3 separate regions of the Homo sapiens genome follow, and all the other regions are linked to region 3. The links are contacts of gene promoters, found by promoter capture Hi-C in blood cells and fetal thymus (Javierre and others, 2016). All regions are on one chromosome and are shown on one strand. Each heading gives the region's core, a stretch centred on a gene start or on the middle of the fragment in contact. The rest is flanking DNA. Distances are from core to core; before and after follow the strand shown. Region 1 holds the start of SLC35G5 (solute carrier family 35 member G5). Region 2 holds the start of TDH-AS1 (TDH antisense RNA 1). Region 3 overlaps GATA4 (GATA binding protein 4).

Region 1 (4,547 bases), core at 568-3,067, 390 kb after region 3:
GGAGTTTGAGACCAGCCTGGCCAACATAGTGAAACCTCATCTCTACTAAAAATACAAAAATTAGCTGCGTGTGGTGGCATGCACCTGTAATCTCAGCTACTTGGGAGGCTGATGTAGGAGAATTGCTTGAACCCAGAAGGCGGATGTTACAGTGAGCTGAGATCATGCCACTGCACTCCAGCCTGTGTGACAGAGCAAGATTCTGTCTCAGAAAAAAAAAAGCAAAAAACAAAAAACAAACAAACTCTATCGAACCCTTCTAGTGAATTTCTCATCTCAGTTGTCGCACGTTTCAGCTACAAAATTTCTACCTGGTTCCTTTCTATAATTTTTATATTTTTATTGATATTCTCATTTTGTTCAAACATCATTTCTCTGATTTCATTTAGTTGTCTTTTAACTCTTGTGCATATTTAAGACAATTGTTTAGTCTTTGTCTAGTAAGTCCAAAGTCTGGGATTCCTTAAGGATAGTTCAATTAATTTTATTCCTGTAAATAAGCCAGATTTCTCATTTGTTTGCATGCTTTGTGATATTTTTATTATAACTGAACATCTCAATATTATAATGTGCTATGGAAGTTAGACTTTCACTCTTTCCTAGGATTTATTATAATTATTTTTTTTCTTTTATTTTTTTTTTGTCTTCAGTCTTTGTCTTTATTTATCCCTGTCCCTCCCAACCCCCGGGCTCCCAAGTTCTATCTCACTCCTCCACCTTCCCTGTCCTCTCACAGCTGAGGTTCCGGGCTGTAATGATGGCAATGCTGCCCAGCACAACCCCTGCCCCCATGATGTCAGAAAGTGCCACAGTCTCATGGAGCATATAATACTGCAGTATAAGGGCCACAACCACCTCGGAATGCAGGACAGCGCACACCAGGGCAGGGTGGGCCTTGGTGACCGCATAGCCCACACATGTGAAGGAGACCAAGGCGAGGATCCCCTCTGCCCCCACACAACTCCAACTCAGGAGGTCACTGGGCAACACGGGGGTCTGCAGCACAAAGAGGCCTGGCACACAGCCCAGCAGCCCCACCAAGCCAGATAGGAAGGCCACTGTTGGGAGGCAGGAGGGAAAGTGCAGAGAACGATAGACCAGAAGCCCCAGGGACAGCGCCAGGCCTCCCAGGAAAGCCTGCACATAGCCCAGGGTGGTGTAGACACCTGTGGTCCCCTCCTGTAGTGTCCAGAGTCCAGGTCCCAGAATGATGATTAGTCCTAGGATGCTGCCCAACAGTCCACACCACTCGTAGCCACCGAGACCCTGGCTCTCAAGGCAGAGGGTGAGGACAGCGGAGCATACGGTGGAAGAACCTTTGCGAACAGTGGCAGCGTTGCCAGCGGGCACCACCTGAACTGCACTGTAGGCACATCCAATGCTGAGGACGTTGAGCAGGGCACAGAAGCAGGCCCAGCCTCGGATGTCAGGAGGTCCCAGAAGGGGGTCGCCACGCAGTTTAAGTAGCAGGGCAATAGGGAGGTGGAAGAGGCATCGACAGATGAGCAGCTCCAGCGAGGGCAGGTTGGAACCCTGGTAAGCCATACGAGAAAGGGGGCCCACGAAGCCAGCAGGCAGGCCCCCACCCAGCAGGGCCACCAGCAGGCCATTGGTGGCACCAGAGGGCTGGCAGCGCTGGTGCCAGCGGAGGCTGGGTGGAGCGGAGGGCGGCGATGGGTGTGTGGAGTCAGGCAGGTTGAAGTAGGGGTGACTGCCAGCCATCTTTCCTTGGACTTTCTCCTCTCCTCCTGGCTCAGGGAGCCTGGGCCCCTCAGAGCTCCAGCCATTGTGACCTCATTGGAGTGCGGGTGGGGTTCTTCCCTGGAACTCTCCTGAGGTGGTAGCACGCCTATTTTCCCGCTGAGTCCAACTCTGCTTCTTTTCTTTCTTTCTTTCTTTCTTTTTTTTTTTTTTAATTGATCATTCTTGGGTGTTTCTCGCAGAGGGGGATTTGGCAGGGTCATAGGACAATAGTGGAGGGAAGGTCAGCAGATAAACAAGTGAACAAAGGTCTCTGGTTTTCCTAGGCAGAGGACCCTGCGGCCTTCCGCAGTGTTTGTGTCCCTGGGTACTTGAGATTAGGGAGTGGTGATGACTCTTAACGAGCATGCTGTCTTCAAGTATCTGTTTAACAAAGCACATCTTGCACCGCCCTTAATCCATTTAACCCTGAGTGGACACAGCACATGCCCCAGAGAGCACAGGGCTGGGGTCAAGGTCACAGATCAACAGTATCCCAAGGCAGAAGAACCCCTCCCAGTACAGAACAAAATGAAGTCTCCCATGTCTACTTCTTTCTACACAGACACAGCAACAATCTGATTTCTCTATCTTTTCCCCACCTTTCCCCCTTTTCTATTCCACAAAACCGCCATCGTCATCATGGCCCGTTCTCAATGAGCTGTTGGGTACACCTCCCAGACGGGGTGGTGGCCGGGCAGAGGGGCTCCTCACTTCCCAGAAGGGGCAGCCGGGCAGAGGCGCCCCCCACCTCCCTCCCAGACGGGGCAGCTGGCCGGGTGGGGGCTGACCCCCCACCTCCCTCCCGGACAGGGCGGCTGGCCGGTGGGGGGCTGACCCTCCACCTCCCTCCCGGACGGGGCGGCTGGCCAGGCCGCGGCTGACCCCCCACCTCCCTCCCGGACGGGGCGGCTGGCCGGGCGGGGGCTGATCCCCGACCTCCCTCCCGGACGGGGCTGCTGGCCGGGCGGGGGCTGACCTCCCACCTCCCTCCCGGATGGGGCGGCTGCCAGGCGGAGACGCTCCTCACTTCCCAGACGGGGCGGCTGCCGGGCGGGGTGCTCCTCACTTCCCAGACGGGGCAGCTGCCAGGCGGAGGGGCTCCTCACTTCTCAGACAGGGCGGCCGGGCAGAGACGCTTCTCACCTCCCAGACGGGGTCGCAGCCGGGCAGAGGCGCTCCCCACATCTCAGATGATGGGCAGCTGGGCAGAGACGCTCCTCACTTCCTAGACGGGATGGCGGCCAGGAAGAGGCGCTCCTCACTTCCCAGACTGGGCAGCCGGGCAGAGGGGCTCCTCACATCCCAGACGATGGGTGGCCAGGCGGAGACGCTCCTCCCTTCCCAGACGGGGTGGCGGCCGGGCAGAGGCTGCAATCTCAGCACTTTGGGAGGCCAAGGCAGGCGGCTGGGAGGTGGAGGTTGTAGCGAGCCGAGATCACGCCACTGCACTCCAGCCTGGGCAACATTGAGCACTGAGTGAACCAGACTCCGTCTACAATCCCGGCACCTCAGGAGGCCGAGGCTGGCGGATCACTCGCGGTTAGGAGCTGGATACCAGCCCGGCCAACACAGCGAAACCCTGTCTCCACCAAAAAAATACGAAAACCAGTCAGGCGTGGCGGCGCGAGCCTGCAATGGCAGGCACTCGGCAGGCTGAGGCAGGAGAATCAGGCAGGGAGGTTGCAGTGAGCCGAGATGGCAGCAGTACAGTCCAGCTTTGGCTCGGCATCAGAGGGAGACCATGGAAAGAGAGGGAGAGGGAACTCCTGGGCTCAAGTGATCTTCCCACTCCAGCTTCTGAGTAGCAAGGACTGCAGATGAGCACCATCATGCCTGGCTAATTTTTTTATTTTTTGTAAAGACAGGATCTTGTTATGTTTCCCATGCTGGTCTCGAACTCCTGGCCCTATGTGATCCTCCTGCCTCAGCCTTCCAGTGATTAACACAGACATATACACCAATGGAACACAATAGAGTGCACAGAAATGAATATGCATATGGTCAAATAATCTTCAACAAAGATACCAAGACCACACAATGGGAAAAGGACAGTCTCTTCAACAAAGTGTTGGGAAAAACTGAATATCCATATGCAAATAATGAAATTGGGCCCTTACCTTACACGGTATACAAAAATTAATACAGAATGGATTAAGATCTAAATGTAAGATTTTAAACTATAAAACTCCTAAGACTGCTTTTTCCCTCCAACAGTGGTGCTGTTTCTGGATGGATCATATCAGAAGGCACATGATGTTGATATGTCCCATTACTAATGATGTTAACTTTTCCTGAAATAAGGTGATATCTACCAGTTCCTTTCACTATAAAGTTAGTATTTTCTCCTTTGTAACTAGTAACTATTTTGTGGAAGGCTATTTGGAGATTATATTCTGTTCTTCACAAATTTTCACCTGCTAGTTTTGCCATTCACTGTTAGGCATTGCCTAAGTCAATGATTACTGTAATAATATGCCAAATAGTGGCTTTTTAATTCCATTTTCTTTCTACATTTAATAGCTGGCATTCTACTCTAAGAAAGAGCTTTCCTTTTACCCTCAATGAGTCATGTGTTTATATTAATACATACTAAATCAATAATATGTAGAATACATATTCCTAATTCTTGGGAGATTCCTGTGAAGTATTTAGAAGACAGGGTCACAATGTCTGCAGCTAACTCGGATGTTTCAGCAAAATAACAGTGTAACAAACACACACACACACACACACACACACACGTGGTATTAAAGCAAATATGGAAAATTTTACCAATCATTCAATATAGGAACAATCTAGGGAGA
Region 2 (4,737 bases), core at 587-3,086, 370 kb after region 3:
TCTGAAGAGTGAGAAAACTCGCCTAACATAGATCAATATTGCCCCCAGAGACCCAGCAAACTCCAACCCCCCCAGCCCTTGTCCTCTCTCCGCCTCCACTTGCAAACGTGCTTAAACCTATTACTCTCCCACTGCCCGCTCCTTCCTTCCAGCCTCAGGGGTCTGCAGGAGCATGTACGCTGCTGGTACCTTCATGCCTAGCCCCTCACAACGGGCCTTCCCTGCTCTGGACTGGGTGATAATTGCCCAGTTTACAACTTCCTGGCGCCAATGCCCCCTGCCCCCTCCCCACTTCTAACTTAATACTTATATGTCCATGCCCACCTTCATTTTCACTGCGTTCCCCCACTCCAATCTTATTCTGCTTTAAGGAGCAAGAAGGTTTACCAGACGCATTTTCAAGGCAGTCTGGGCTTTAAAACCTCTGACTCATTACATCATCATCATCACCAATGCATCCTCTTAATAGTAATGATCCAAGGAAAAATCAGGCGCCTGGTAACTACGGAGCGTTGGTGAAGCATCTGCTTTCCTGAACTCTTCTTAAACCCTCACAGCAACCCTGAAGCTGGGACCTTTTCCCCATTGTTCAGAATCCACTGACCCGCCCAAGGTGAGGCAGTTACTAACTACCAAGTGAGGTAGGTCCACCGTGTCCCATACCCTCTACTTCCACCACCCCGACTCTTCCCACTTAAGAGATGAGATCAGATGCCTAAGAAGAGACAAAGAGGAAGAAACACCCCCAGGGCCACGCAGGGGGCACCTTTCCTGGCAGCCTGCACCCCTCCCCAGGGGGAGAGCACGGACCAGCCAGGGGGTCGCGGCCCGCGGCCCGCCTAGCTGTGTGCGCCTGGCTTCTTGCCTCGCCAAATCTCAAGTTTCCGCGTCCTCAGAAAGGGGGCAATCACCATGCCATCCTAATAGACTGTTGAGAGCGTTTAATAAAAGCAGTCAATCTATGAAAAGCACTGTGCAAACTGCGCGGTCAGTGTAAAGGCTCAATCCACATTCGCTTTCTCTCTCTCTCTTTTTTTTTTTTTAAACTCTCTGGGCTGGTAAAGTCTGAACTTTACGTGGGGATGATCTGAAAGCTAGAAAGGATCGAGAAAAATCCCAAAGCTCTAAGCCTGAGCTAGGGAGGGTCTCAGAGGGAGGTCTGACTGCAGACCGGGAGTCTTCTCCTCCCGTGCGCCGCTGCCCGGGACGAGAAACCCGTGGGGCATCCAGGACTAGGACACGAGGTCTCAGCCTGGGCAGGTGGACAAGCTGTGGGGTCCCACCCTCCGCAGGCGATGGCTTCCCAAAGTCTGTACAAACCGGTTTCGCCGGGCCGGCCATGCCCGCCCCTCTTCTCGGCGTGGGAAGCCCTTTCAAAAGTGGAGGGGAGCGAGTGTCGCGCCCTGCCAACCCCGACTGCGCCTGGGCCCTCCCCGCGCCGGGCTCCGGAGCCGCCCCTCCTGACTCTGCGACCACGGCCGGGGACCCTGCGCGCGCCCGGGAATGCAGAGTCTCCAGCGCCGCGCAGGGCTCGCCCCGACCTCGGCCGGCCCTGGGCAACCCGCTCCGCGGCCAGTCCCCACTCCAAGATGTGGCTCGGCTCCCACCTCCGCGGGGGGGAAATGTCGGGCGACCCCCACACTGACCTTCCTGCGCACCCAGCGCAAACTACGAACCCAGAGTTGGAGCTGCCCGCAGACCCCGCGCAGCCAGACCCCGCGCCTTTATCCCGCCCCGCCCCGCCCCGCCCGGCGCACCAATCCCCGGCCGAGGAGGGGCCGCGTGGCGCCGCGGGGGGCGGGCCGCGCACGCCCCCCGCAGGGAGGACTCAGGGACAGTCAGGGCCCCGGGAGAGTCCGCGCGCATCGCCCGGCTCCGCGGCGCCAGCCATGGCGTCCGTGCGTGGCCCCGCCAGGGATGGGGCGACGCGGTCAGAGCCGCACGCGACCGAAATCCGCACTCTGGAGCCGCAGAGCGCGCGGTCTTGCTGTTTAGCGGCTCCCTGGCAAGTGACGTGGGGAAGAAACGCAGGGCGCAGGAGAGACAGCTGGAAAGGTTTGCGGTGTAGCTGGCCCAGGATTGAGGGTCTGGAGGTCGGGTGTTGGAAGACCTTGAGCGAGGCACTTCTTGGCCTCCCCAGCTGGGAGGCATCGCTGAAAAATTAGGTGACCCCCAAGACGGTAGACCAGCAGAGTCAGCGTCACCTGGGCGCCGGTTGGAAATGCAGATTGGCAGGTCCCACCCCCAACCCCTCCCGACTTGCTGAGTCAGCATCTCTGGGGGTGGGGCTCGCGCGCCCCCAGCGGGACGCCGGTGCGCGCAGTAGCTTAAGAAGCTGGGTCCAAGGCGCTGGTTCTCAAACTCCGCTGCATATTGCAATCACCTGGGAGCTTTTTAACCTCCAAACGCCCAGGCTGCCCCCGGACCAAATGACAGAATCTCCGGGGCTGGGGGGGACGGGGATAGAGAAGCCCAGACCTAAGTATTTTTTTAAGCTCTTAAAGCGATTCCAGTGTGCTGTGAAGGTTGGACCCACGGTGTGGTCTCTGGACAAAGCAGCCCCCACTCCAGACCTACCGAACCAGGGAATCTGCATTTTAACAGGATCCCCAAGTGACTTGCAGGCGCCTTCGGTTTGGGAGAAACAACTCTAAGGTGTCTTCTGACATTAACAATCTGTGATTTTGTGAAATCTGTCTCGTTTTGTTTAGCGGGCTAGCCAGGCCCCGTTTTCTTCAGCTTCTCCCTTGACTTGATCCCTGAAGATGGCTCTGCCTCTGGCGCCCTTGAAATATGTCGACTAGGTCATGATCACCGTGCATTCTGCTCAGCGTAGTCTCCCCGCCTGAAGTGTTATTAATGCAGTCTAAAATGACTACGGTTCTGCGGTCTACCGAACTGCCCACGGAGGTAGGGGTTTCAGACTTTTGGCATCTCAAGAGACTTGAGATTACCGAGACCACGATACCCCCAGAGACGTGACGAGATGGGATCAAGGCCACGGGGGACCAGAATGCTGACCCAGGCAACCTGTCCCTGCCTCGCTGCCCTTTGTAATACTCCTTATCATATCATGAGGAGCTATTTTCCGTTCTCCACAAACTTGGTGGTGGATGGAAGAGGATATCAAGCTCACCTTGAGTGGGATTGAGGTAGGAGGCGGGGCTCAGACACCAGACCAGATTGAGGACAAACTAAAGCAAGGTCAGGGCCAAAGCAGCTTTCCAACAGATAGGACCACCAGGGTGCCACGTCAGTTTACCGTTGCCATGTCAATACCAGGGAGTTACCGCCCCTTTCCGTGGCAGTAACCCAATAATTACCACCCCTTCCCTAGAAATTTCTGCATAAACCGCCCCTTAATCTGTATGCAATTAAAAGTGTGTGTGTGTGAGTGTGTGTGTGTGTGTGTGTGTGTGTATGTGTGTGTGTGTGTGTATATATATATATATATATATATATATATATATATATATATATATATATATATATAAAACTGCAAAACTGCCCTGAGCTGCTCCTCTCTGCCTATGGGGGAGCCCTGCTCTGCAGGAGCAGTCACGGAGCTGTAACCCTGCCTCTTCAATAAAGCTGTTTTCTTCTACCTCTGGCTTGCCCTTGAATTCTTTCCTGGGCAAAGCCAAGAACCCTCCTGGTGGAAGCTCCACTTTGGGGCTCACCTGCCCTGCATCAGGATTACAGGTGGGAGCGTTGCGGAGTAGAGCGATCCGCTGACACTGCCTCTGGTCTGCATTGGGGAATGGCGGCCGGTCGGGCGGGGTCACAGACCATAGCTTCAAGCTTTGTTCTTGGGGATTCCAGGGACTGAAAAGTGGGTGCTTTCTGGCTACCTAGCATCCACTTCCTCTCTTCCCCATGCAAAGAGGCTGAAGTGAATGGCGTCAGTCCTCGCCCTCCTCAGTCAAGGGGCAGACACTATCTGAGATTTAAATCCTGTCCCCACTAGCAGAGGCCCTCTGAGGCCAGTCCCGCCCAGGGACACTGCCAAGGGCTTCCTGGCTCTAGGACCGCCTTGGGTTTCTGCCCCTTCAGGCTGCTTCTCCAGTCCTCCCAGTGAGCCTGTGTCCTCCTCAGACCCTTTGGCTTCTGTCTGCAAAGTAAGTTTCTGTCCTAACTTAGGGAGTGATAATATTCAGAATTTCTCTCCATTTTCACGGTTGAGATTTTGGCGCTAAAATCACAAACCCAAATAAAAAAATAAATAAGAACAAATAGCCTCTAGTCTATATTCATATAAATAAATAACTGAATGAGTGACTAAATGGGGGGAAAGGGCAACTCTTTTTTTTCTTCGAGGCAAGATGTCACTCTGTCGCCCAGGCTGGAGGGCAGTGACATGATCTCAGCTCACTGCAGCCTGGCCGACAACTCTTTCTTGCAGAATTCCAATTAATACATATGGAAGGAATGAGAGACTTGGCAAATCACCACTGAAACACTACTGCAATCATTGCTGCAGGCAGGGTCCCCAGATGTGGCAAAATTAGCTGGGAAAGCCTAAGGAGAAGCAGGATATTTGCATAGTCTCAAAGCATCTCTCCCAAAATAGATGTTTATCAATAACAAAGGGAAAAATAGTAACTTTGCAGTGAACAAAACTGGCATCACCACCTTAACCACGTGACCCAGGTTTACCTCTCCAGAAACGTGTTGACAGAGGAGGCGCTGGGAAGAGCGCAGCACCCCGGAGGTTTTCCTGCCCAACAATGCACAATC
Region 3 (4,649 bases), core at 1,765-4,264:
ATGAAATAATCTGTAAAACAAATCCCCGTGACACGAGTTTACCTATGTAACAAACCTTCACATGCACCCCCAAATCTAAAATAAAAGGTAAAAAGAAAAGATGAGTCCATCAAACCCAAGATTTCACAGAGTTGCTTAAAACAAGGCAGGCAGCCGTGGAAACCTACCTGACACAGGCAAGCATGAATTCGAGTTTGATGTCCACGCAGGCACAGGAAGGCTTAATGTTAATGTGGCCTCTGTGGTACCGGGAAAGACAAAGTCAGCCTGAATGACTATCACGGGGCATGCCGGAAGACACTCGATTTTAAACATCTCCAAAGGGCGGTAGAGCAGTCCTTCTCACCATTGCTGTACCTGACCTGAATTCTTCACCTTACAAATGGCCACACAAGCAGAGAGAGGCAGTGAGTCACACCGCAGGAAGAGAAGGGTCTGGGAGAGGAGCCCAGGGTTTCTCCGCGCCAGACCAATGTGCTTTCACCTCCCTGCGGCTGCTGGGATCTTGGGTCACCCCTTTTCAAATAGCAGATTTCAGCGCTGCAACTCCCATTCCCCAGTGAGGCCTAGTAAATCACACGTCCTGGGGGCACCTCGCTTCAAGGACCCTAATTTAAAACTTACAAATATGCTTTAGTTTTAAAGTGGCTATAAATTATATACCATAAGATTAAAAAATATGTTTTTACACCCAACTCTTCCATTCAGCTGTTATTGACAGTGCTGGTCAATTTCTCATTTCTGCTTTATTTAAAAATGGCATCAGTGTTTAAGGATCCAATCTGGGTCACTAATTTTACAGAAATTGCCATCAGTGCTGAAATGACTTTAAACAGTAACTTGCACGACTACTTAATAATGTAGTTATACACATACCTGTGTATGTAGGATAACTGGAAGTCAAGGATTAATGCCTAACAGTGGTTATCTTTGGATGGTAAGATTACCAATTATTTTTACATTGGTTTATGTGAGTTTTCCATTTTTCTATAATAAATATACATTGAGTTTCATAAAATAAAGAAGTTTCCCTTATACTACTTGAAAAAAAATTACTACGTGTTTCTCTGAAGCCATTTTTGCCTGGAAAGCATTTTCTTTTTTAAAATAAGCAGTATTTTCCTACATCTGTGCACTCCGTGGGAACTACATTCTTTATTTCGGGTCAAGTTAAGTTCTCCCCAAATGCTAGGGAAAGGTTTTATTTGTTGTTTGTTTTCCCCGCCTACTCAATTTTGAGGGGCAACCTGTATTATTGCCTGTCTTTACCTGGTTTGATTTATGATCTTGGAAGTCAGGTCATTCTTTTCTAGGTCAAAGAAGGAAAAAAAAAAAAAGGACTCCCCCACCTAATACCTGATAAAATATCTGAAAAGGTCATTGCAGACCTTGACGGAGACACAATTTCAACCCAAGCTGATAAAACAACAACTAGCAAACTTTTATCAGAATAAAATGTAACTTTGCCATTTCCCAGCTCAATTGATGAACTCTTTTTTATCTAAAATGACAGATATCATAAGATAGGAAAACCTCTAGATAAGCAACCAAATTGAGTTGTTTGAATCAGATCTGATTGTCTGCCCCTGGTTCAAACTCCCACACCTGCTCGGAATGGGTCAATGAGCGCCTCCTGGCATGGTCCCGAGGGGTTTGGAAACATTGCAAAAGTGGTGAACTTTGAGACTTCAGCGTTTATTCTGCGATTATAATTAACCTGCTCACCAGTTGCTATCGATCAGTTCTAAATGGAGGCGATAAGGTTTGACTGGATTTCTAGAAGTAGAAATGGAGATTTCAACTGGGGAGTAGAAAGGAAGATTTAAAAAATAACTTAAGGACTGATTAGATTTTAAGAAGCAAAACTGGATTTGCGATTAGGGGATCCCAAAACCCATGGCTTTGATCTGCCTGGAAGAATCGTGAGGAAGCTTGAGTACAAAGGAAAACTCCAAAATTCAAAATTCCCACCAAATTGTGGTAGTAACTTCTTGATTTTTTATCCTCCAAAATAAAATATATCTGTAACTATTCAATGTGGGTTACAGACAGCCTCAAATTTTACTTGCAGAGGCTTTTCAATGACTTTAAACACACAGAATGGCCCACCTGTCTGGATTTTACTCCTCCTTTGGAGGGAAAATATATTTTAAAACATCAGGTCAATTCTTGGGCTCCTGCAAAATGCAGAAGGCCAGAAAACCAAATTCCCATCATTCAGATAAGAAACTTGAATATCGTGGCTCAATTCTGATTACAGAGCAGTAATAGATAAAAGCATAGGCCACCTGCCAGAAACAAGAAAACTTCCACTGATGGGCTGCTACATTCAGTTCAGACCAATTCCACGGGGCTTTTCCTGCCTGGGGTTTTAGTCATTGTCTTGATCCATGCCCCATTCTTATCTTTACTAAAATCATCATTATTGTGCTTTTATTATGATTTTCTCCTCTTCTTTCTCTGCTTTTACCACAAATATATTTGAAATCTTCAGAGAAAAGGGAACACAGAGGGTCAGTTATAGATTTCTCTTAGGAAAGGGATTTTTGAGTGAGCCATATGGTTTTGCTCTTAAGCAGCCAACAGTTCCCCTAGAGTTAGGAGAATCCTCCCATTGGAAGGGTCTGAATCCTGGGAAGTCTCTTTAGTTCTCTGCACACCAGAATCCAACGGCTAGAAAGGAAGTTTGTGCAACACTGGGATTCCTAACATTGCATTCCTGAACTGCAGAGCTTACAGTTGAGGAATGATACGGAAGATTCCGTAGGACGACATTGCTCCTAGAGAGACAGTGATTGGTGGGAAGCAAACGGAAACTCAGACAAGAAGCTACCCTGGGGAGAGGAAGCGGATGGGAGCGACAAGTCATGGAAAATCCTAAGGTTTAATAGAGCCCTTCAATCACACATAGCTTCTGGTTCTGAAGAGCCAAGTGCCCTCATATCAGATTTGGCAAATACAAAGTGTGGGGAAAGGGGGAAAGTACAATCCTGCAGGTTGGACTTACCTGGGTTCCAAACCAGGGCTGTTTACTACCCACGGGGACCTGAGATTACAGGCTCTTTCTGGGTATCAGCTTTCTTTCCAGCAAAACAGAGATCATCGTATCTACCTCTTGGAGAAAGACTTCAAAGTCCCTGGCATCAGATGATTTCTTCATTGACAGGGATCCACCTTACTGTTCAATGGAATGACATGCAAGATACAGGCTACTCTCGCTAAAAAGTTGTTAGCCAGTATCCAAACGTGAATGTGCCAAAACTTATAAATGTATTTTGTATAAATTAAAACAGATTCAAGATTATTCCTATTATAACCCCATTTATATTTTCTTCCCTGCCTTCTTTAGAAGGTAACAAAAGAGTAGCTCTAGAGATAGCCATTAAATTACTCTTAGTAACCAGTTTATGTTGTATGGCATATGGGGCCATGTCATGGTCTACCAGAGGTCAATATAGCAGAGCGATACTCCTTCCCAACAGAGCCTTAACAGCTGGTTCTGCAGGCAGGCTAGGACAAATAAGTTCCCAAAAGACAAATAGTTTCAGATGTCAGAAAAGTTGCTTCAAGTTCTTAAAGCAGCAGCTCGCGTTGGCAAGAACTGCCCTCTTCTGGAACAAGGAAAGGAAAACTAGCATACTTCCTCTTTCTTATGCAGACACAAGCAGCTACATTTGCAACTGGCTTCAGCTCTAAATTCAGTACAACTAAATTGTCTTAAAATTTGTTTAAAAGAATCACCTTGCCCTGGAGGAAGGTAACTTGTTCTTCACACAATCCCACCGCTGCAGCCGGTTAGTGGTTTTCAGGCAGGTTCTAACTCCAATATAACCTGAGGGAAAACTGCCTACCTGGAGAGGTCACCATTGCCTAGTACGTGACTGTTTGTGCCCACAAGTGGGGAAGCCACAGTAGTGTGGGGCTGGGGTGTCCGCCCATTGCTGATTTAGATCCACTACCAGCACTGAGACCAGGAGTAGAGATTTCCCCCTCTCAGTAAAGCAACCTCCTGTGAAATAAGCAAAATCAAAAGCCAAATACAGGATTGCCACTGAGGATGGTTTTGATCTGCCTTGAAGAATCTTGAGGAAGCTTGAGCATAAAGGAAAACCCCCAAAATTGTAAAAGAATAGGTAAAAGACAAATTTAATAAAAAACAACTTATGCCTTAAAGCAGTTTTCCTGTGCATCCATAAACACTAAATAGAGAATCTTCTTTAAAAAAAAAAGAAAAAGATGCTACTTTCAGGTTGATTCATGAATATCATGTATCTGTTTTTTAAAACTTAATTAGTTTAATATGTTTTTAAAATTAGGTAATATAGTCACATTCTCCAAATTCAAAAGGTTTCATTTGCATACCCATGTTCATAGCAGCATTATTCACAGTAGCCAAGACGGAGAAGCAACTCAGGTGTCCATCCATGGATGAATGGATAAACAAAACGTGGTCTACACATACAATGGAACATTATTCAGCTTTAAAAAGGAAGGAAATTCTGGCACATGCTACAACATGGATGAATCATGAAGACATTATGTTAAATGAAATTAGCCAGAAACAAAACGACAAACACTGTACGATTCTACTTGTGTGAGGTCCCTAGAGTGGTCAAATTCATAAGAAAAAGAAAATAGAATGGGGGTTA

The links. Contacts are between HindIII fragments. The CHiCAGO score rates a contact against its expected background, and 5 or more counts as called.
Region 1: the fragment with the promoter of SLC35G5 here is called in contact with a fragment that was not itself captured in region 3 in 2 of 17 cell types (total B cells and naive B cells); the score reaches 6.9 in total B cells.
Region 2: a contact is called between the fragment with the promoter of TDH-AS1 here and a fragment that was not itself captured in region 3, in 3 of 17 cell types (naive B cells, total B cells and M0 macrophages). The highest score is 6.6, in naive B cells.

Annotation. Positions count from the first base shown.
Region 1 is chr8:11,328,282-11,332,828 of GRCh38, reverse strand. It overlaps SLC35G5 (solute carrier family 35 member G5), which reads right to left and starts at 1,817. Exons shown (of 1, transcript NM_054028.2): 1 at 469-1,817. The coding sequence starts at 1,722. The coding sequence ends at 706. It also overlaps a transcript of MTMR9 not described here. The HindIII fragment of the contact is 5,485 bases long and covers 1-4,547 here.
Region 2 is chr8:11,344,615-11,349,351 of GRCh38, reverse strand. It overlaps TDH-AS1 (TDH antisense RNA 1), which reads left to right and starts at 1,836. Exons shown (of 2, transcript NR_147705.1): 1 at 1,836-2,055; 2 at 2,712-3,604. It also overlaps the pseudogene TDH. RefSeq lists a silencer at 1,689-1,968 and an enhancer at 1,523-2,146. The HindIII fragment of the contact is 5,915 bases long and covers 1-3,803 here.
Region 3 is chr8:11,715,893-11,720,541 of GRCh38, reverse strand. All of the region lies in intron 2 of GATA4 (GATA binding protein 4), which reads right to left. Among named protein-coding and RNA genes, the nearest start is that of SNORA99, 13 kb to the right of the region's middle. RefSeq lists a cis regulatory region at 1,675-1,688 and an enhancer at 1,610-1,754. The HindIII fragment of the contact is 2,161 bases long and covers 1,934-4,094 here.